Linked DNA regions of Homo sapiens: all the other regions are linked to region 3. Evidence: promoter capture Hi-C in 16 types of primary human blood cells and fetal thymus (Javierre and others, 2016). All regions are on one chromosome and are shown on one strand. Each heading gives the region's core, a stretch centred on a gene start or on the middle of the fragment in contact. The rest is flanking DNA. Distances are from core to core; before and after follow the strand shown. Region 1 overlaps UBE2E1 (ubiquitin conjugating enzyme E2 E1). Region 2 overlaps NR1D2 (nuclear receptor subfamily 1 group D member 2). Region 3 holds the start of UBE2E2 (ubiquitin conjugating enzyme E2 E2). Region 4 holds the start of NR1D2 (nuclear receptor subfamily 1 group D member 2). Region 5 overlaps UBE2E1 (ubiquitin conjugating enzyme E2 E1). Region 6 overlaps UBE2E1 (ubiquitin conjugating enzyme E2 E1). Region 7 has its middle 60 kb from the start of UBE2E1.

Region 1 (2,700 bases), core at 183-2,682, 660 kb after region 3:
AGGGTGTGTGTAGACAGCAGGACCAAGGATTCGCCTGGGTGAAAGAGTTGGCAATGAGAAAGCAACCAGACCCTCCCCTCCAAGCCCAGCCCTGTATTTGACATGCAGGGCATAACCTCACTCATTCAGTCTCTCAGCCCTATGCAAATATAAACAGCCTTCCTCTTGTCTCTCCAGGCCAGCCGGGGCCAAGAAAGAAGCCAGTGATTCCCCCAAGTGCAGTAAATAGCTCTCCTCACCTCCTGACCCTGTTATTTCCTGGTAGTTCTGAGTTGTGGATCCTGCAGTGGAGAGGGAGGGAACAAAGAAGTTGCAGAGGCCTCAGCTTCACAGAGCATTGAGCAGTGGGTGATATTGTATCCTCAGGCAGGGGTTGACCTCACATTTCAGTGCAGGTCATTCTAATGACTGCTGGACCTCCCAGTGCCACTGTGAACTAGAATGGAATAGAGTGAAGTGGATCTGAATTCCTGGACTGTGGGACCAACCTAACTTCTGAGCTGGAGAAAGTAGGTCTCATGTTCTATACCTGCTTTTTTTTAGCTCTAGGGGGAAAAAAGAATTGTGCATCTTTCTTGTTCTCTTTGCAGCTTAGGGGCATAACGTTTGGACTGTAATTGAACTGATGCTTGTTTCCCCAAAATGTCTTTGGTTTTCATTAAGGTGGGGGATTCTCTGCATTTTTGGAGTTGTCACATTATTATCGAAATTCCTCTCCACACTAAGTACTGTGTGTGGTATGCTTTTATTTTCACCTAATTGATTTCTGCAAATAAAGTGATTTAATTTTTGGTATTAAGAAATTTAAATAACACCTTTTGGCAGATCACAAGATTTTCTTGTTCTTATTTAATCCTGGCTTCCATCCAAATGTGAAAGAGAAATGAAATAATAAGGTAGGAAAGGCAGACCAGTAATTGTGATTAAACAACTTTTGTGTTGAGTCCAAAGACAGGTAACTTTATTTTAAGCTTCATGGGTGTAGTAAAAATATATCACCTTAAGAAAACCTGGATTGCCATTAGCCAGAACTGACTTCCAGGCTTTCTGACTTTGTACAAACAAATCACTTAATCCTGAATCCTTCTCCTCATCTTTTTTTTTTTTCTCTTTGTTTGTTTTTAAATGTATTTCTTTATTTTGTATTACTTTCTTCTTGTCTTTTTTATATTTTATGTATTTTATTTTCCTCATCTTTAAAATGGATAAATGTTACCTTTCCTGATTCAAAGATTCTAGGCAAAGATCAAAAGAAGTCAAAGTTTGTGAAGGAACTTTGAAAATTATATATTTCTCTGCAATTGTGTTAGGGTACTTTTCTGTCTTTGATTTATGTTGGTTCTTGGAGTGATACTTTAGATGTACAAATAGTAGGTCAGAACAAACCTGTATGTAATAAATTCTGGAGAATTGAGTTCAAACTTTGGTTTTGCTTATATTTGGATAAATTATCATCAACTTTGTTGAGGTGTAATTTATACACAATTAAATTCACCCATTTCAAATCTTCCATGTGTTTTGACTGTTTAGATAAATTGACAAATAATTATCTTAGATAACAGTTGGTATTTCTACATTAAAGAAGGGAGAAAGAGCACCCTCTTTTGGCAAAAGTTTCTCCTGTGTGGGCTCTCCGGTCCCCCTGTCTCATTTCAAAATCAGATTTGCATCCTGCTGTTGGAGTACACTTGAGCCCTTTCATTTATACTGGTGCAGGTTTTGTAGTCTCTTAGAGATTCAGTATGTCAGTCCCATGTCTGAGAGCAAAGGAGAAGGAAGAGGGTAGGAAAGAGCACCTGAATTGAATAGAGAGGAGGGAGCAGAGAAGGCAGAACAGTGAGATAGTATCCATTTAGTCTGAGTATTTCCAAATTTTCCAATAAAATGTCAGTGGAAGCTTTTATCATAAGGCCAAAATCTGTCCTTCAATGTGACCACAGAGCCACAGGAGACCCAAACCCCTTGTAGTCACTGATGATTTTCATTGGGCTATAGATGGGAATGGCAGCAGTCATAAATATTTCCTATGAATGAGTGTTCTAGATATTTTTTACCCAAAGATGTAGCATATCAGTGGGTCACTATTGAAAACATGTTTGGAATGAAGCAGGAAAATAAGTCAAAAGATCTCCCCTCAGTTCCTAAGCAACTTTGTTGTAAAAATAACTGTGAAAACTGGGCTTAAATGAAACATACATTCGAATGCCTGGAGTAAGAATTATTGATAGCCCAGACTTAGTATCCCCCCCACCTTTCCAAGTCCTTAAAGCATTGGCTTTCTACTCAGAAACGCTGCTTACCCTAGGGTGACCATAGTTACTTTTATTTTTTATTTTTATTTATTTATTTATTTTTAGATGGAGTCTCCCTCTGTTGCTTAGGCTGGAGTGCAGTGACACGATCTCACTCACTGCAACCCCCACCTCCTGGGTTCAAGCTATTCTCCTGCCTCAGCCTCCTGAGTAGCTGGGACTACAGGCGCCCACTAACACACCCGGCTAATTTTTGAATTTTTATTAGAGATGGGGTTTCACCATATTGGCCAGGCTGGTCTCGATCTCCTGACCTTGTGATCCGCCTGCCTCAGCCTCCCAAAGTGCTGGGATTATAGCCATGAGTCACCATGCCTGGCCACTTTTACTTTCTCTTATTACTTTACTTTCTACATTAATAGGTAGATTAGATTCCATCTCTTCTACC
Region 2 (2,700 bases), core at 50-2,549, 760 kb after region 3:
TGGCTAATTTTTGTATTTTTAGTAGAGATGGGGGTTTCACCATGTTGACCAGGCTGGTCTCGAACTCCTGACCTCAAGTGATCCACCTGCCTCGGCCTCCCAAAGCGCTGGGATTACAGGTGTGAGCCATCAGGCGTGGCCAGGAGTTTTTTGAGTAACAGATTTCAGCAATTGATGTTTTGTTTTTTCAATTCCCTGAAATTTTTTTTATAGTGCTAAAAGTACTAATGCTATAAAAATAGTTGATGGATATTGTGATTGCCCTGAAAGAATAAAACTGACAATCATTTGTGAAGGGAGGAGTAGAGATAAAGTATCAAACATGATTAAGTTGTTTGTTTTTGGTAGCAATAATGTTAGAGGCTACAATTAGATTAACGAGGCTTTCTGGGCAAGTATACTGAATTTTTATTATCTCTGTGTAAATACTAGACTGTGAAAGAAGCTTTTCTTTCTCTCATGGATAGGATTATTGGAGACAAGACACCTTCTAAGACTAGCTTCTAAAAGAATAGAGGATGACTTATCTCATTTTTACTTATTTCACTGGTTTTAATTAAAATCTACCAAGTTTATTTTTCAGTAAGTGCATTTCTACTGATTGTGGAATTTTTTTTAAGGATTTTTTTTTTAAAGAGGCTGGAAAAGAAGACAGCAGATAATTTCATAGTTAGATCTTGAGAGCAAAGTTACAAAAATGAATTGACAAGGGCCAGGTGTTCAGGGAATGATTTCACCTACCAGATTCCATTAATGGTAATGGATGTGTGTAGCTGAATCACACATGCCTTGCTGGGAACAGTCCTCAGCTTTGTTAGTAAGGAGCTGTGTAGTAATACTGGTCTGCTTCAAACTGGTTTTCATTAGCTAATTTCATATTTCTTTTTTCTTTTTCTTTCTTTTTTTTTTTTTTTTTTTTTTTTAAGATGGAGTATTGCTCTGTCACCTAGGCTGGAGTGCATTGGCACCATCTCGACGCACTGCAACCTCTGCCTCCTGGGTTCAAGCGATTCTCCTGCCTCAGTCTCCAGAATAGCTGGGACTACAGGCGCCCGCCATCACACCTGGCTAGTTTTTGTTTTTTTAGTAGAGACGGGGTTTCACCATATTGGCTAGTCTGGTTTCGAATTCCTGACCTCAGGTGGTCCACCTGCCTCAGCCTCCCAAAGTGCTGTGATTAGAAGCATGAGCTACTGCACCCATCCGAATTTCCTATTTCTTTTCTTAGACTTTGCTTATAAAATACCTAGGAGGTAGATGTCCTTAACTTTGTTGTGGGGGGAAAATAGAAAATTTTCTCTCCCTCTCCTACTTCCTTTGGTGCATCAAGACCAGCAAGTTTAGAAAAATGTGGACCAGAGACATGTAGACTCATTCTTTATATGTATGACTAGAGGCCATAACTGTTGGATAATTTTGTGTTATTCTTTTATACAAAACAGGTCTTATTTAGAATATAGACGTTAAATATCTTTTTCTTCAATAGCTGTTCGGTTTGGTCGTATTCCTAAGCGTGAAAAACAGAGGATGCTAATTGAAATGCAAAGTGCAATGAAGACCATGATGAACAGCCAGTTCAGTGGTCACTTGCAAAATGACACATTAGTAGAACATCATGAACAGACAGCCTTGCCAGCCCAGGAACAGCTGCGACCCAAGCCCCAACTGGAGCAAGAAAACATCAAAAGCTCTTCTCCTCCATCTTCTGATTTTGCAAAGGAAGAAGTGATTGGCATGGTGACCAGAGCTCACAAGGATACCTTTATGTATAATCAAGAGCAGCAAGAAAACTCAGCTGAGAGCATGCAGCCCCAGAGAGGAGAACGGATTCCCAAGAACATGGAGCAATATAATTTAAATCATGATCATTGCGGCAATGGGCTTAGCAGCCATTTTCCCTGTAGTGAGAGCCAGCAGCATCTCAATGGACAGTTCAAAGGGAGGAATATAATGCATTACCCAAATGGTCATGCCATTTGTATTGCAAATGGACATTGTATGAACTTCTCCAATGCTTATACTCAAAGAGTATGTGATAGAGTTCCGATAGATGGATTTTCTCAGAATGAGAACAAGAATAGTTACCTGTGCAACACTGGAGGAAGAATGCATCTGGTATAGTGAAATCGATTTTTTGCTTACATTGTATCAGGGAAAGCTTTGAAAATTTTCTTTTATTCGGGAGATATGCTAACTTGGGGGGATGGTGTCAGGAAACCTAAGAAATTTACAGACTTAATTTTGTACAGTATTTTAGGTCAAATAATTTTAATAAACATCTTCTGATGAATGACCTAATTTCACACCCAGCTAGGTACAAGCATGTGATTTGATTGATCTGAGATTGGGATTAGGATTTTATGTAAAATATGATTCATGCAGAATTGGTCCTTTAATTCTTGGAAATCCCTTTGAAAATTTAAGCATTCTGGTTAATTAGTACCTTACTAGCTTTGGGATTTTCTCAAAGGGCCGAACTTTTCGCTTGCCATAGTTAGAAATTCTTTGATTTCTATAGAAAGAGGTTTTTTTTTTTTTTAACCATTATTATGCAAGAAGGTCTTTGGATATAGAACATAGATGTTTTATTGTTTGATAAATTTAGGAGTATTTTAATTTCATAGGCTAATTTCTAAGGATTTTCTCAGACTTCATCTTATGAGATGACTTAATGTTGGTCATATCATTGAAGCTTTTCTA
Region 3 (2,700 bases), core at 48-2,547:
TAGCAACCATAATTTCAGCAATTAAGCAGTGAAAGATCTTCCAATCCTTTCCTCCACAAAGATAGAAGTTAATTTTGCTGCATCCCTGGACACCCCGTTGCCAACGACCCAGCATTCCGTTGGTAAGTGAGGCTGGAGGTTGGAGTGGGAGAAATTTCGTGGAAGCTAAGTTCGCAAAGCAGGTACGTTTTTTTTTTTTTTTTAAACGGTTATTTGGGATGAGGAGTACAACGGAACCTAATGTTCCCTCATGCCACCTACAGCACTGCTACTGTTCCCATATCCTTCAACTGGGCATGAAGGCAGCTTCCCACTCACTCTGACAGTGGTGCACCCTGTACCCCCACCCCTCTCTTCAATACCCCAGGGCTAAACGGCCCGAAGCTCCTCTCTACCGGCTGGTGCGCATTCTGGGCCAGGGCGAGCCAAAAGGCAGAAGGGCCTTCGTGCTGCAGTGTCTGGTGAAGACTCAGGCTTAGCCTGGAAGAAGTTTCCAGGCCAACGTGAAGTTTTCCTGTCTTGGGTACATGCGAGCCCCACGCGTCTGCGAGTTTGGGTTAGTGTGTCAACAGGGTCAGTCCCCGTATCTACTTTGCGAAAGCTTCGAGGCGAGCGTGAAGTCAAGGGCTGCGGTGGATGGGGGTAAAAGGCCTCCTCGTCCCACTGCCTGCACCGTCTTGGGGTAACCCCTAACCCCCAGCCGGCGTTTCCCTTTAATGCGCGTGCCCGGCAAGGTCCTCGCGTCCCCTCCCCTCAAGCCACCCCGTCAGCCTCGGTTTCCCCCACTTCTCCCCGTCCTTGTCGTTCCTTCCCCGTGGGACGCCCCTCGCTCACCCCCGTCAGAGCCCAGTCTGCGCGCGGGACCCAGCTGTCACTTTACTTTTCCTCGCCGCCTCCCCACCCCCTCTCCCGACCGGCGGGGCAGCCCGCCCGGGCGCGCTCCCGCCCCCGCCCCCTCGCGGCCGCGCGCCGGAGGAGGAGGGGCGGGGGGAGGAGGGAGGCGCGCGGCGCCGCATGGCCGACGTGGGGCTCGCGCTCTCGCGGTCTCTCCCGGGCGGGCGCGCAGGCACGCGCACTCGCGGGTGCGCGCGCGGACGGCCGGGCGGCGGCGGCTCCCGGAGGTGGTGGCTTCACTTTCCAGGACTCAGGGGCAGCCACAGCGACAGCCGCGGGCAGCAGCCTCAGGAGCCGGAGCTGGAACGGCCGGGGGCGGCGGCAGCGGCGGCGCTGAGGGTGAGTCCGGGCGGGCGCGAGCGCGGCGGGGACAGGCGTGGTCGGGTGCGTGGTGCGTGGGTCCGGCTTTCGGTGACTAGACGGTCCGCAGGGGACATCCCGTCCCTGGGGCCTCCCCAGTCTCCCTCCCCCTCGCGCCTGGGCAGCTCTCTCCCAGGGCTTCGGCTCGAGCCTGCGACCTGCACGGACACCCCCCCCTCAGGTATTCGCTCGGGCCGCGCCGGTGCCTCCCCTCCTCGGGCGTCCTCCCTCTCGCTGACGTCCTCCTCACTCCCCCGACCTCCCCTCCGCGTCGCAGGTCTCTGCTTACACCGCTCGTGCCCTAGTTCCCTCCTTCCTCGCTCCCCGTGCCCGGTTCCCTACGCCCCCTCCCGCGAGCCTCCTGCCCCCGTTTCTCGCCCTTTCTACCCCTCCCCCTTCTTCCCATCCCCCCCTTCTGCCTCTTCTCTCCCTGTCCTCCTTCTACCCCCTTCCGTTCTCAGTTCCCCATCCTTCTCAACCCTCCCAGCGCTTTCCTTCTCCTAGCCGCATCCTGGAACTAAGTCTTTTCAAAAGTACAGGATAAATGTCACGGTGGAAAGTGCCCGGCTTGATCTTTTGCTATTTTCCCTAATTGCATAATTGCTGCACATGGTGTGTCTCCTGGCGAGTGCCGGGTTTGGCTCCTTCGCCGCCGCACCCCGGTGGCCCGCCCGGAGAAGACCTTGTGGGGTATATTTGTGTGTGTCCTGGTGAGGGGTGTGTGTTGTATTGGTCTTTTGTGATGCCTGGCGCTTGTCACAGTTTGGAACCGAAGCCCATTTTTCTCTGGTCTCTTCTCTGCAGCCCCCACTGGCCTGGTTTGAAACTGGATTCCCTCTGTCCTCTCCCCCTTCCCGCCCACCCCACTTCTCCCCCTCTTTTCTCCGATCTCTCTCATAATGTTTTGATCTTTTTGCCCTTTACCATTTCTAATGAAGATAAAGCGTGGCTTCTTGTGGCTTTTTTCCCCCACGACCAACCAGAAATGTCCAATCCATCTTCCCTTAAGGAAATTAAGGCTGCTTTAGAAAGACATCATCCTGTGCTCGGTGGCTGTTAGACCCATTTGCATGTTTTCAAGATTCATCGTTTTGTATTGTGTATTCTTGAGAGTCTACTAAAATATTTTTATTTAAAAGTACGAAAGGAAGTGCTAGGGTTTACCCTCAAAGTATCTCGCGGTTCTAAAGGATTTTACGCTCTTCTTAGTTTTTAATCCCTGATTTCTTTAAAAAGTATGTTTCTAGATATGTGATAATTCAGTCTGGACTTTGTGAATCTAAATATTTGCCTTTACTACGGCAATTTGGATGCTCCTTGGCTCTTTGGAATTCTGTATGTGGGCTGACGCTGAAATAGAGTGTTTTCATATAATGCCATACCCCATTCTCTTTCCCCTGCAGCACCTTTTACCCCCAAATCAGGTGTTCCACTGTTATTTTCTGC
Region 4 (2,700 bases), core at 49-2,548, 740 kb after region 3:
GAAGTGACTGTAGGAGGACCCAAGAAGCACTCTCCTAGTTAGGGAACCAGAGCAGTAGCTGAGGCAAGAGATAATGGTTTGCTCTAGCAATACCAACGGTGAGAAACAGGGATTGAACATATTTTGAAGGTAGAATAGCTCAGACTTGCTAATGGATTGAATGGAGAATAAAAGGCTGTGAGAGTGTTAGGAGAGAAACATAATTTTGCTGGCTTCAGGAACTTGCAGATTTACCAAAACAGTAAATATTGATATGGTGAAGAAACCTGGGGGGTGGGGAAATAGGGTGTTGCACATGTAAATATGTCTTCCACGTGACATTTTCCCCACCTTCTATAGTGAAGAATTTCAGAGCAAACTGGAAAGAGTTTTACAAGCAACACCCATATCCCCATCGCCTAAGTTTAACATCTTACCATATCATCTATTCATGCCTCTATCAGCCCATCTTACTTCAGTAATGCGTTTAAATTGCGGGCATCAATGCACTTTCCTCAGAATTCACCTCAGCACGCATACAATTTATGTCTAGCTTTTTTCTTTTGATCTAAAATTTACATTCAAGGTGAAACGCCCAGATCTTGACTGCACATTAGCTGAGTTCGGACACACGCGTACACCCGTCTAAAATCTGAGATGCAAAAAAGCGGCATAATCAAACGGGCTGCTGGATGTAGGAATCTGGAGATTAGAAGAGAGGTCTTGGCTTGAAATATAAATCTGGGAATCACAAGAACATAGGTCTACTTAAGCTATGAGATTGGATAAAATCACCTAGAGGGTGCAGAGGGAAAGGGAAGGGTCTGTGCCCTCAGAGACCAGCGTTTGGAGGTCGGTCGGGTGGGAGCGGGGGGTGGGGGTGGGGGGCGCAAGGGTTGAGCAAGCCCGAACCAGCCGGCCCAGCCGGGGTCCTGAGAATCACCCTTGCTCGGCGCCAAGCCACCGCTTTGACCTAAGAGCCACCAGGTTGGGGGGCAGGGCGTGGAGAGGACTCCCGGCCAGAGGCGGGAAAGGCAGCCGGGAGGAGAGGAAAGAGGAGGAGGAGGGGAGGAATATGCGGCGGAGGGAAACGGAGAAGAGGTTTACGGCACGGAGGGGAAAAACGAAGGAAGAGGAGGGGCTCGGCAAGGAGAAGGAAGGGGAGAAGGGGGAAGCGCAGGAGAAAAGGGTAGCCGGGGAGCCGGGAAGCGGGCGGGAGGGAGGGGAGCGGCGGGGCGGAGGTCGCCGCAGCGGCCGGCCGAGGGCGGGCGGAGGGAGGGGGTGTGTGCGCGGGTCACATGGTCGCGGCTGCCCTCCCCGTCAGCCGCCCTCGCCGCCGCGGTGCGCTGGCTGCAGGAAGCCGCCGCGCCGCCGCTTTTGTTGTCAGGGACCCAGCGAGGAGCGCCGCTCGCCGGCCGCCGCCACCCTCTCTCGCTGCAGCCTGCTGTGCGCTGCACGGCCTGGGGCCCGGGAGCCCCGCCCGCTCTGCCCATGAGGGGGCCCCGCGACCACCGCTGCTTCCAGCCCGGGGCGGCGCGGCGCTGAGGCGGCGGCGGCGGCGCTGCCCCCTCTGCGGGAAGCGGGCGGCCCCGGCCGCCTCCGCGAGGGCACCATGGAGGTGAATGCAGGTAAGAACCGGACTGCGGCGGGTGGGGGATGGCCGGAGGGAGCGCTCAGAGCCCGCGGGGCACTTTGGGGGGCGGCGGCAGGGGGTGTCCCCATGGCCGGTGGGGCGGGGTGGGCTGCTGCGCGCCGCGTGTCCGCCTCTGGCTCGGTTCCCATCGCCCCCCGGGCCGCCCGGCGCCCGCCCTCTTGTCTCCCTGCAAAGCCGCAGCGCGGCCTGCCGGCGCCCGGCCCGGCCCCCCCCTCACATGGCCCGGCCGCGCGAGCCACGTGCGCGCTGTGTTTACGTTCGGCGGCGCGCGGGCGCCGGTTGGCTGGGCGGGCGCGTGACGCGGCATTACATAATGGGCGCTGAGGCGGCGGCGGCGGGCGGGGACACGTGAGGCCGCTCGGCTCCCTGACCCACATTCCCCGGGGCCGCAGGGACACGTGGGGGCGGGGGCGCGCGCGCGCGCGCTGGCTGGGAGCGCCGCAGCCTCCCGGGAGGCTCCGCCCCTTTGGAAGCCTCGGGGCAGTGACGTCGCCGCGATTCCCTCCTCCCCCGCGGGGTTGCACACTGCGGAGGAGGCCGCGCGTGCGCGCCCGCTGAGCCCCCGCGGCGGGGCGTCCCCGAAGCGGGCGCTGACACCGCAGTGCACCGGACGCCGCACGCTCTTTTCGCGAGGTGACCCCAAGGCGCGGACCCCGCGCAAACCAAACGAACCGGCGCCTGGGGAGGCTGGTAGCTGCATACCTTGCAGATTCCGAGGAGGAAGTGCAGGACGAGGGCGTGCTGCAGGCCGGAGGAGGCGCCTCGGGGAAGGCGTGGGGCTTTCCCGAAGGGATACGCTCGAAGGAGCTCTGAGGTGCTTCGATCCCGAGCGACTCCCCGCAGACTGGGTAGCACCGCCCCTGTTAGGATGCCGTCTGTTTACAAAAAAAACCGTTTGCTCTAGGACGCGACCTGTCTCATACACACACAGTCTTAAAAACTGCTTCCAGATCCCTTCGGGCTGGAGTTTTCCAGTAAACGGGTCACACCCGCAGCTGAGCGTGCAGCTCACGTATGGTCAGGATGACTCAGGTGATCATAGGTGACTCCAACACCATATGTAAGAC
Region 5 (2,700 bases), core at 56-2,555, 620 kb after region 3:
TTGTGAAAAGTACCAGAAGACATCTGGGACAGAGGGAAGGTAAAAACAGGCCCTGAGGCGGGGACAAGTCAGGTGATGCTGATTATGTAAACCGTGCTAAGTAGAGAGTTTGGATTTTTCTCAATAATGCTTTAAAAGTCTTTTCCCACCCTCCCTGCTGCATGGAAAATAGCTGGGAGGAAGATGCTAGTGGAAGAAGGGAGACCAGAAAGGAGGGTATTGCTCTGTTTCAAGCTAGCTGGTGCAGGTGGCTAGGATTAAGGTAGTGGCAGTGGAGATATGGTAGAACACTGGGACCTGTTGTTGGATTGCATGTGAGAGATGAGGGACAGGAACAAAAATGACTCCAAGTTTCTGTGTTTTTTTGCAATTGGCTAGATGATAGTGATGTTTTACTGATAGGTAGACTCCTAGGCCTAGAATAGGGCCGTAGGGCGCGTGTGTGGTGGGTGGCAGGGGAGATGAGGGCAGGGTGGAAATGACTCCTTTTTGGACTTGATAGATTTGAAATCTGTTCCCATGAGGCATCCAAATGAAGGTGTCAAAAATAAGTTAGACATAGGTAATTGGAGCTCTGAGATACATACACATTTGTAAAGGAGACCTTACCAAACAGAGGCTCTTGGGTGTCTTGGGAATGCCTTTCTCTCTCCTAGAAAGGAAAGGCATCATGAGAAGAGTGCCCAGGATGAAGACTCAGGCATCTGGCATTTAGAAGTGTACACTAGGAAAAGCCAGCAAAGGAGACAGAAGGAAAATCAAGAGAGTGTGGTATTAGAAAGCAGTGAGTGGAAAGTTTTGAGGTAGAGTGATCAAGTGGGAAATGGTGCTGTGCAGTAGAAAAAGATGAAGACCAGCAAGTAACCACTAGATTTTACCTCAGGTTTGTTGGTGACCTTCACGTGTCAAACCTGGTTTAGAGGAGAGACAATGGAAAAGGAGGAATGATTTTCAAGAATGAAAATGTGTTTGTATTACTCTTCCTAGTTAAAATATTTCATTGTATTTATCCAGAAAAGTGATCTGGTGTTATCTACTTTCTACACTTTAGGGCAGAATTTCTTAACATAGTATATATAATTTTGTGGGGAGGATGGGGAAAGGGCCCACCATTTTCAGTGGATTCTCAAAGGAGTTTTTTTTTTCTGATCTCCCCTCTTTCCTCACCAAAAAAAGTTAACTTCTACTTTACGAGATTCAAGTCCTTTGTGATCTTTAGGTTAACGTTGTACCATGCATGTTACAAGTAAATAGTGTCAGGTTCATGTATTACATCTTGATGAATCTCTTTTTCAAGACTTGGTTTGAAATTACTGGATAAATTGGAAAATCAGTAAATTGCTGCTGCCATCCTTAAAAATATTTTACATGCTTTGATTTGCATCGACCTTTTGTATTCTGTTCAAGCTGGAGAATGCACTAGAATGAGTTGGATATATGTATTTACTTTTAACACAGCATAAGTTACTCATCATATTTAATGTTTTTCATCCCCTCCCCCATCCCCCCACCCCCAACCCCCGCCACCGCCCTTCCAGAGACGGAGCCTTGCTCTGTCGCCCAGGCTGGAGTGCAGTGGTGCCTTCTTGGCTCACTGTTACCTGTGCCTCCCGGGTTCTAGCGATTCTCCTGTCTCAGTCTCCTGAGTAGCTGGGGTTACAGGCATGTGCCACCACGCCCAGCTAATTTTTGTATTTTTAGTGGAGATGGGGTTTCACCATGTTGGCCAGGCTAGTCGAAAACTCCTGACCTTGTGATCCACCTGCCTTGGCCTCCCAAAGTGCTGGGATTACAGGCATGAGCCTCTGCGCCCATCCTGTTTTTCATCCTTTTAATATGGGCTGTTATGTTAATGCTTTACATTGGATATACTTAGAACTCTTAAAGCAATCATATAAGCATTGTCTTTTTAATTGTCCACTGATCATGTCTTAATAATTTGTTTCAGATTATGCCAGATACTCTTGGTCCTGCTTACCTTGATAATTGAGGGTAGAATTAAGAAAGTTTTAGGATTAGGAATCATTCTTCTAATTCAGAGAGTAATTAGTTGGAATCACAAAAGCATTAGGTGCTGAACTGCCAGAGACAAGCAACAAATAATATGTGGAACCACAACTGTTTTGGCTACGTAGGAATTTTGCTCCACAAGTAATTTAAATTGTTCCTACTACCACTTACAACCTTTCCTCCTCTATGGGGGTACATCTCAATTTTTAAGTTAATATATTAGAATTGGTGTTATAAAAATTTATTTCTTAGCAGACTTTGCTACAACACATTTATCCTAAATAAAAGGAGATTGTTGACTTTGCAGAGAAAAAGACCCTAAAAGAAAACATTTGTTTTATTACAAGCACCCAGGAGGATTTTTTATAAACATGAAAGATAACTTTCCTCTAACCTAAGTAAATATTTCAGAACCAACGTATGTTAAGTGATTATAGTAATGTGTGTGCAGAGACTGGCAGTAAAGTTAGCAGCGTCATATACTACTTGCTAGTATATCACACTGCTTTGGCCTTTTTCTGAGTAACCCTCTCTCTGGAAGTCTTCAGAATGCCTAACTTCATCCTTCAGGGAGACTGGTAGCCCCCGAAAAGACATTTATTTTTTGTAGCTTGGTATTCTGAGATGTTCTCACATCCAAAGTAAACACTGTCAAGTGATTTGGACCAGTCCTAAAGTAAATCATATATT
Region 6 (2,700 bases), core at 40-2,539, 640 kb after region 3:
ATCTTTATCCTGCAGTTGTACTGACTTAACGATATCTTCTTGATATTTCTTCCACCATGTGTAATTTTTTATGCTCTTAGGGCTCCTTTAATGAAGGCAACTCATATGTAAAATGGGAGTATGTAAAAATAATTTGTGGGAGAGCCATGTGGGTGGGGTTTGTGAGTAGTCTCTAAGGCGCAGGCTACAGCTAGCTAGCCTAGTGTTTGTGAGCCCTCCCCTTCCCCCAGTAAAGGTTGATTCCTTTTTCTCCTCTTTCCTGCTTGTTTATTTTATTCTATTTTATCCTCATTTTCTACTTCTGCCCCAAAAGCACCCATTCTAATGCCTTTCACTATATTGTTTGTGTTCTTGTAAAATGTATTTAGTGTTTGTATTTTTAACTTACATAAATGATGCCTAATTCTTTCTTACATTTTTCTAAGCACAATGTTTTAAGCTCTCTCCCTGTTGCTATGCAAGCATCTAATTCATTGCGTTGAACAGCCACATAGTATTCCAAGGGGTATACTCATTTTATCTTATAGAAGACCAGATCGTTTCCAGCTCTCCATCCCCACTAACAGTGAACATTCTGGTCCGTAATCTTTTTTGGACCTCTGTAAGAATTAAGCAGAACTGCAAGGGGATCATAGGGCTTACTTAAATTTGATTTGACTTAAGTTGTACCAGATTGTTCCCCAGAATGGCTGTACTCATCTCCATGCCCACCAGTAGCAGAGCATGAGAATTCCTGTGTCCTCTTAGGTGCGTTCTGATTTTCTAATTTTTGCCAATCATACTCTACACTTACATATGGAGAATATGTTCATGAACATGTAGGTCAGTCTTAGGTGTTATGCGTGGGAGATGGGTTGTTGCTCTCCCAGATATGAAGACGTGCTCCAATAATACTACACTGTATTTATTACCGTAGCCCTGTGGTAAGGTAAACAGACCAATGAAGCTGACTTGGAGCACCCAGAGATGGACATGTGTATATGTAGGATTTTAATATATAATATATAATTTATGGCAGCACCAAACACTGAGGACAAGATGGGATTGTTCATAGATGGTATAGGGAAATTGACTCACCACAAGGAGGTAAATAAAACCGGATTCCTACTTAATACCATATATGAAGGTAGACTAGGTAGATTAAAAGCTCACATGTGAAATTTTAAAACTATACAATGAAGAAAGAAAATGCGACCCACAGGCCAGGAAGGATTTCCTAAGTGTAGCTTCAAAATCACAAATCTTGACAATAAACTAAAGCAAATTTTATGTGAAATTAAAATTTTCTTCTTAATGGACAGGATATTTTCTTCTTTTTACCTCAAGATCTGTGTGTCTGGCAGAATGCATTGCACACTCTTCAGGAGTGGGGAGGCTGAATTGGCTATGCACATATATACTCTCTTGATAGAAGGAAGAAAGCCTCTGTTTACCAAGTTGCCCCCATTTTATTTAGCAATGAAATTGTAAGCCACATGACAATTCCCTTTTTCTAAGCATATGTAGGAGTAGAGTGTAGATCAGTGTTTTCTGAATATATTGTCTGTATCAGAATTACTTGAGGCAGTTGTTAAAAATGGAAATTCCTCTTTTGTCCATCTCCCCACTGTTTTGGTTTCTCTCTCTCTCTCTCTCTCTCTCTCTCTGTGTGTGTGTGTGTGTGTGTGTGTGTATGTGTGTGTATGTATATATATAATTTTTCTTTTTAAACAAAACCTCTCTAGGGTGGAGTTTGGCAAAGTTATTTAGCAGAAGTCCAAGTAGTAAATATTCTAGGCGTCATAGGCCATTTGATCTCTGTTAGAACCGTTCAACTCTACCCATAGTACAAAAGCAGCCATATACAATTCATAAATGAAAAAATGTGGTTGTGTTCCAATACAGCTTTATTACGGACACCGATTTCAATTTAATAATTCAATATAAAATTTATTAATAGTTTTCACGTGTCATAAAATACTAGTTTTCTTTAGATTTTTTTAATCACTTAAAAATGTGAAAACCTTTCTTAACTAGTAGACCAAACAGAAACAGGTTGAGGGCCTGATTTGGCCCATGTGAGTCATAGTTTGCCAACTCTTGCTCCTTAGGCAACTAAGGTTTTCAAACCAGTGCCCTAGCTTATCTGATAGTTAACTGTCATTCTCTGTATTATTTGGGAAAAGTTCTTACATCAGTAACATGAATTTTCAGTACCTGTAAGAGAAAGTAGTTCTTAATGGTCAGGAAGGGATAATTAAATAAATGTCTTACATAAATCTAGTTTAAGGTAAATGTAATGTTGAAACATTTGGTTTTTTAAATTCCTTTTAAGCCTATTCAAGAGTGGGTAATAGAGCTGGGTGCAGTGGCCCATTCCTGTAGTCCTAGCTACTTGGGAGGCTTGAGGTAGGAGGATTGCTTGAGGCTAGGAGTTTGAGTTCAGCCTGGGCAACATGGCAAGGCCACAGTCTCTTAAAAAAGAGAATGGGGCCAGGTGCAGTGGCTTGCACCTGTAATCCCAGCACTTTGGGAGGCCGAGGTGGGCAGATCACCTGAGGTCAGGAGTTTGAAACCAGCTGGCCAACATGGTGAAACCCCATCTTTACTAAAAATACAAAATTTATCCGGGTATGGTGGCACATGCCTGTGGTCCCAGCTACTCGGGAGGCTGAGGCCCGGCAATCACTTGAACCCAGGGGGCGGAGGCTGCAGTGAGCT
Region 7 (2,700 bases), core at 57-2,556, 540 kb after region 3:
ATGGGAAAATCTTCTGCCTCTTCCCCTTTAACTCAGGTTCCTAATCCTTTATTTTCTTCAAGTTTCTAGTGGCAACAAATTGGGGGGATGAGAGAAGAAAGGTTTAGTTTGCCCCATCTTTAACCACATTATTCCTCTTTATTCTACAAAAGTAATAAAAATCATGCACCCACACCCATACCTTAACAAAGTATCAGAGTTACACAGAGTAAGCTTATCTTTTTACAAGAATGGGAAACTGAGCGGGGCCCGGTGGCTCACGCCTGTAATCCTAGCACTTTGGGAGGCCGAGGCAGGTGGATTGCCTGAGCTCAGGAGTTCGAGACCAGCCTGGGCAACAGGGTGAAACCCCATCTCTACTAAAATTTAAAAAAAAAATAATTAGCTGGACATGGCGGCGTGTGCCTGTAGTCCCAGCTACTGGAGAGGCTGAGGCAGGAGAATTGATTGAACCCGGGAGGCAGAGGTTACAGTGAGCTGAGATCGCACCACTGCACTCCAGCCTGGGCAGCAGAATGAGACTCCATCTCCAAAAAAAAAAAAAAAAAGAGGAAACTGAATCCCACAGTTAATAATATAGTTTAACTAAAATCCAGTACTCAACTGATATGTTTGGGTAGACTGCTTTTCTTTGAAGAGGAAAGAATGCTTTAAAACCCAAAGGTCTTAACTTTCAGATTTTGCCTAGGTCATTCTCCATTGGCTATACAGCTGCTAGCCTCCCACCTCTGTCCATGATACCCCTCGGTTGTTCAAAGACTCAGGTCAAGACATGAAAAAAAATGTGGTATGGATCTGGTGCAACTCTGACATAAATTGTTGTCAAATTGACCCATCTTCCGGTAGTGGAGGTGATTGGAAATTGGAAGTTCCCAGCATTGATTCTTGTTCATTTCCACTCTGACACTAGCCTTTTCCCATTTTCTTTTTTTTTTTTTTTTTTTTTGAGACAGGATCTTACTCTGTCCCCCAAACTGGAGTGCAGTGGCATGATCACAGCTCACTGCAGCCTCGACCAGGGCTCACGTGATCCTCCCACCCCAGCTTCCTGAGTAGCTGGGATCACAGGTGCGCGCCACCATGCCGGCTATTTAAAAAAAAATTTTTTTTGGACAGACAGAGTCCCACCTTGTTGCCCAGGCTGGTCTCAAATTCCTGAACTCAAAAGATCCTCCTCCTGCCTCGGGCTCCCAAAGTGTTGGCATTACAGGCGTGAGCCACCTGCCCAGCACCAGCCTTTTCTTATCTTAACCAAGCCTCGCTTCCCTCAAGTCATTTAAAATAGGGGAACTTTATTCATAAGACTCCAACGCTCAATAGCCCACCCAGCTAATAATAATAATAATGATAATAAAAAGTCTATGTGGAAACCTGTGATAATCCAAATAACTAATTCTAGCCATTAATTTCAGCCTTCTCCCTCACTGGGAGATTCGAGAGCTGCGAAACACCAAGAAATAAATCACTGAGCTTCGCTTCTCACAGTCTACCGTCTGGTGAAGGTGCTAATGAGCAATGATGTGCCCCACAGGAAGGAAGAAATTAGGGAAGGAGGAGAGGGACAAGAGCACACAGGGGCTGGGAATCCAGCCCTTGGTGACTCAAAGTTGCCTAGACTTTTAACCAAATCTGTTTAGGTTTTACTTCTCCAGGTTTCATTAGCCATTAGAAATGCAAATTAGTTAGATTCCTCCAGAAAACATTACCCTGCTTCCCCCATCTCCGGCCCTCCCTTCTCCCCCTCCCCTTCCTTCCTGCCTTTCTTCCTTCCTTCCCTCCCTCCCAGCAGCATTGTTGAGCATTTATAAAGTGACCGTCACACCATCGGTTTTACATTGCAATGTCAGGGGCCTGAAAGTAGATATAAACTGCCAGTTTTTCCAAGGCTGCCATCAAATAATTGAGCTGTGGCCTCTAACTAAATTCCAGGAGGAAAAGATTTCTCAAAGCTGGGCTAATTCTCTTTGTTTATAGCTATTTTATGTATTTATATATTTGTTGTATATATACATGTGTATATATATATATGTTTTATATATGTAATTTTTTGGCTCTTTTTTTTTGAGAGGGGGTCTCACTCTGTCACCCAGCCTGGAGTGCAAAGGCTCAATCTTGGCTCACTGCAACCTCCACCTCCCAGGTTCAAGCGATTCTCCTGCCTCAGCCTTCCAACTAGCTGCGATTACAGGCGCTCGCCACCACGCCTGGCTAATTTTTGTATTTTTTAGTGGAGACGGGGTTTCACCATGTTGGCCAGGCTGGTCTCGAACTCCTGACCTCAAGTGATCCGCCCGCCTCAGCCCCCCAAGGTGCTGGGATGACAGGCTTGAGCCACCGCACATGGCCCCATATGTAATGCTTTATATATAACAATGAGAATTCTTATATTATGTCCATTTGAAAGCTTGACCTTGTCTTTTGAGACGGGGTCTTGCTCTGTCACCTAGGCTGGATTGCAGTGATGCAATCATGGCTCACTGCAGCCTTGAACTCCTGAGCTCAAGTGAACCTCTCACTTCAGCCTCCCGAGTTGCTGGGACTGCAGGCATGCATCACCACACCTGGCCAACCTTGTCTTTTTCATTATAGACACTGAAGAATGAACAAAATGTAACTGCTTTTCCAATAAGTATTTTCTTTAAAAACAAAACTCAGTAAGAGAAAGAACATTAAATGCAGATTTCTTCAGGTGACATAAGT

What was found. Contacts are between HindIII fragments. The CHiCAGO score rates a contact against its expected background, and 5 or more counts as called.
Region 1: a fragment that was not itself captured here is called in contact with the fragment with the promoter of UBE2E2 in region 3 in 7 of 17 cell types (fetal thymus, total B cells, naive B cells and 4 more); the score reaches 15.9 in fetal thymus.
Region 2: a fragment that was not itself captured here is called in contact with the fragment with the promoter of UBE2E2 in region 3 in 3 of 17 cell types (fetal thymus, total B cells and activated CD4 T cells); the score reaches 7.3 in fetal thymus.
Region 4: a contact is called between the fragment with the promoter of NR1D2 here and the fragment with the promoter of UBE2E2 in region 3, in 11 of 17 cell types (fetal thymus, naive CD4 T cells, activated CD4 T cells and 8 more). The highest score is 16.1, in fetal thymus.
Region 5: a contact is called between a fragment that was not itself captured here and the fragment with the promoter of UBE2E2 in region 3, in 8 of 17 cell types (fetal thymus, naive B cells, total B cells and 5 more). The highest score is 14.2, in fetal thymus.
Region 6: a contact is called between a fragment that was not itself captured here and the fragment with the promoter of UBE2E2 in region 3, in 7 of 17 cell types (fetal thymus, monocytes, total B cells and 4 more). The highest score is 9.6, in fetal thymus.
Region 7: a fragment that was not itself captured here is called in contact with the fragment with the promoter of UBE2E2 in region 3 in 1 of 17 cell types (M0 macrophages); the score reaches 5.1 in M0 macrophages.

Annotation. Positions count from the first base shown.
Region 1 is chr3:23,865,974-23,868,673 of GRCh38, forward strand. The region is part of intron 3 of UBE2E1 (ubiquitin conjugating enzyme E2 E1); the gene reads left to right. Among named protein-coding and RNA genes, the nearest start is that of NKIRAS1, 50 kb to the right of the region's middle. The HindIII fragment of the contact is 926 bases long and covers 970-1,895 here.
Region 2 is chr3:23,960,491-23,963,190 of GRCh38, forward strand. NR1D2 (nuclear receptor subfamily 1 group D member 2) reads left to right here. Exons shown (of 8, transcript NM_005126.5): 5 at 1,487-2,115. Among named protein-coding and RNA genes, the nearest start is that of NR1D2, 17 kb to the left of the region's middle. The HindIII fragment of the contact is 1,713 bases long and covers 444-2,156 here.
Region 3 is chr3:23,202,030-23,204,729 of GRCh38, forward strand. It overlaps UBE2E2 (ubiquitin conjugating enzyme E2 E2), which reads left to right and starts at 1,298. Exons shown (of 6, transcript NM_152653.4): 1 at 1,298-1,435. UBE2E2-DT (UBE2E2 divergent transcript) reads right to left here and starts at 964. Exons shown (of 2, transcript NR_136176.1): 1 at 835-964. RefSeq lists enhancers at 1-946, 359-418 and a silencer at 769-1,458. The HindIII fragment of the contact is 2,247 bases long and covers 600-2,700 here.
Region 4 is chr3:23,943,988-23,946,687 of GRCh38, forward strand. It overlaps NR1D2 (nuclear receptor subfamily 1 group D member 2), which reads left to right and starts at 1,299. Exons shown (of 8, transcript NM_005126.5): 1 at 1,299-1,607. The coding sequence starts at 1,592. It overlaps LOC124909354 (a long non-coding RNA gene), which reads right to left and starts at 1,193. Exons shown (of 2, transcript XR_007095845.1): 1 at 1-1,193. It also overlaps a transcript of NKIRAS1 not described here. RefSeq lists silencers at 1,163-2,352, 1,849-2,390. The HindIII fragment of the contact is 14,696 bases long and covers 1-2,700 here.
Region 5 is chr3:23,821,328-23,824,027 of GRCh38, forward strand. The region is part of intron 3 of UBE2E1 (ubiquitin conjugating enzyme E2 E1); the gene reads left to right. Among named protein-coding and RNA genes, the nearest start is that of UBE2E1-AS1, 16 kb to the left of the region's middle. The HindIII fragment of the contact is 9,608 bases long and covers 1-2,700 here.
Region 6 is chr3:23,843,945-23,846,644 of GRCh38, forward strand. The region is part of intron 3 of UBE2E1 (ubiquitin conjugating enzyme E2 E1); the gene reads left to right. Among named protein-coding and RNA genes, the nearest start is that of UBE2E1-AS1, 38 kb to the left of the region's middle. The HindIII fragment of the contact is 4,321 bases long and covers 1-2,700 here.
Region 7 is chr3:23,745,008-23,747,707 of GRCh38, forward strand. No RefSeq gene overlaps it. Among named protein-coding and RNA genes, the nearest start is that of UBE2E1, 60 kb to the right of the region's middle. The HindIII fragment of the contact is 2,191 bases long and covers 212-2,402 here.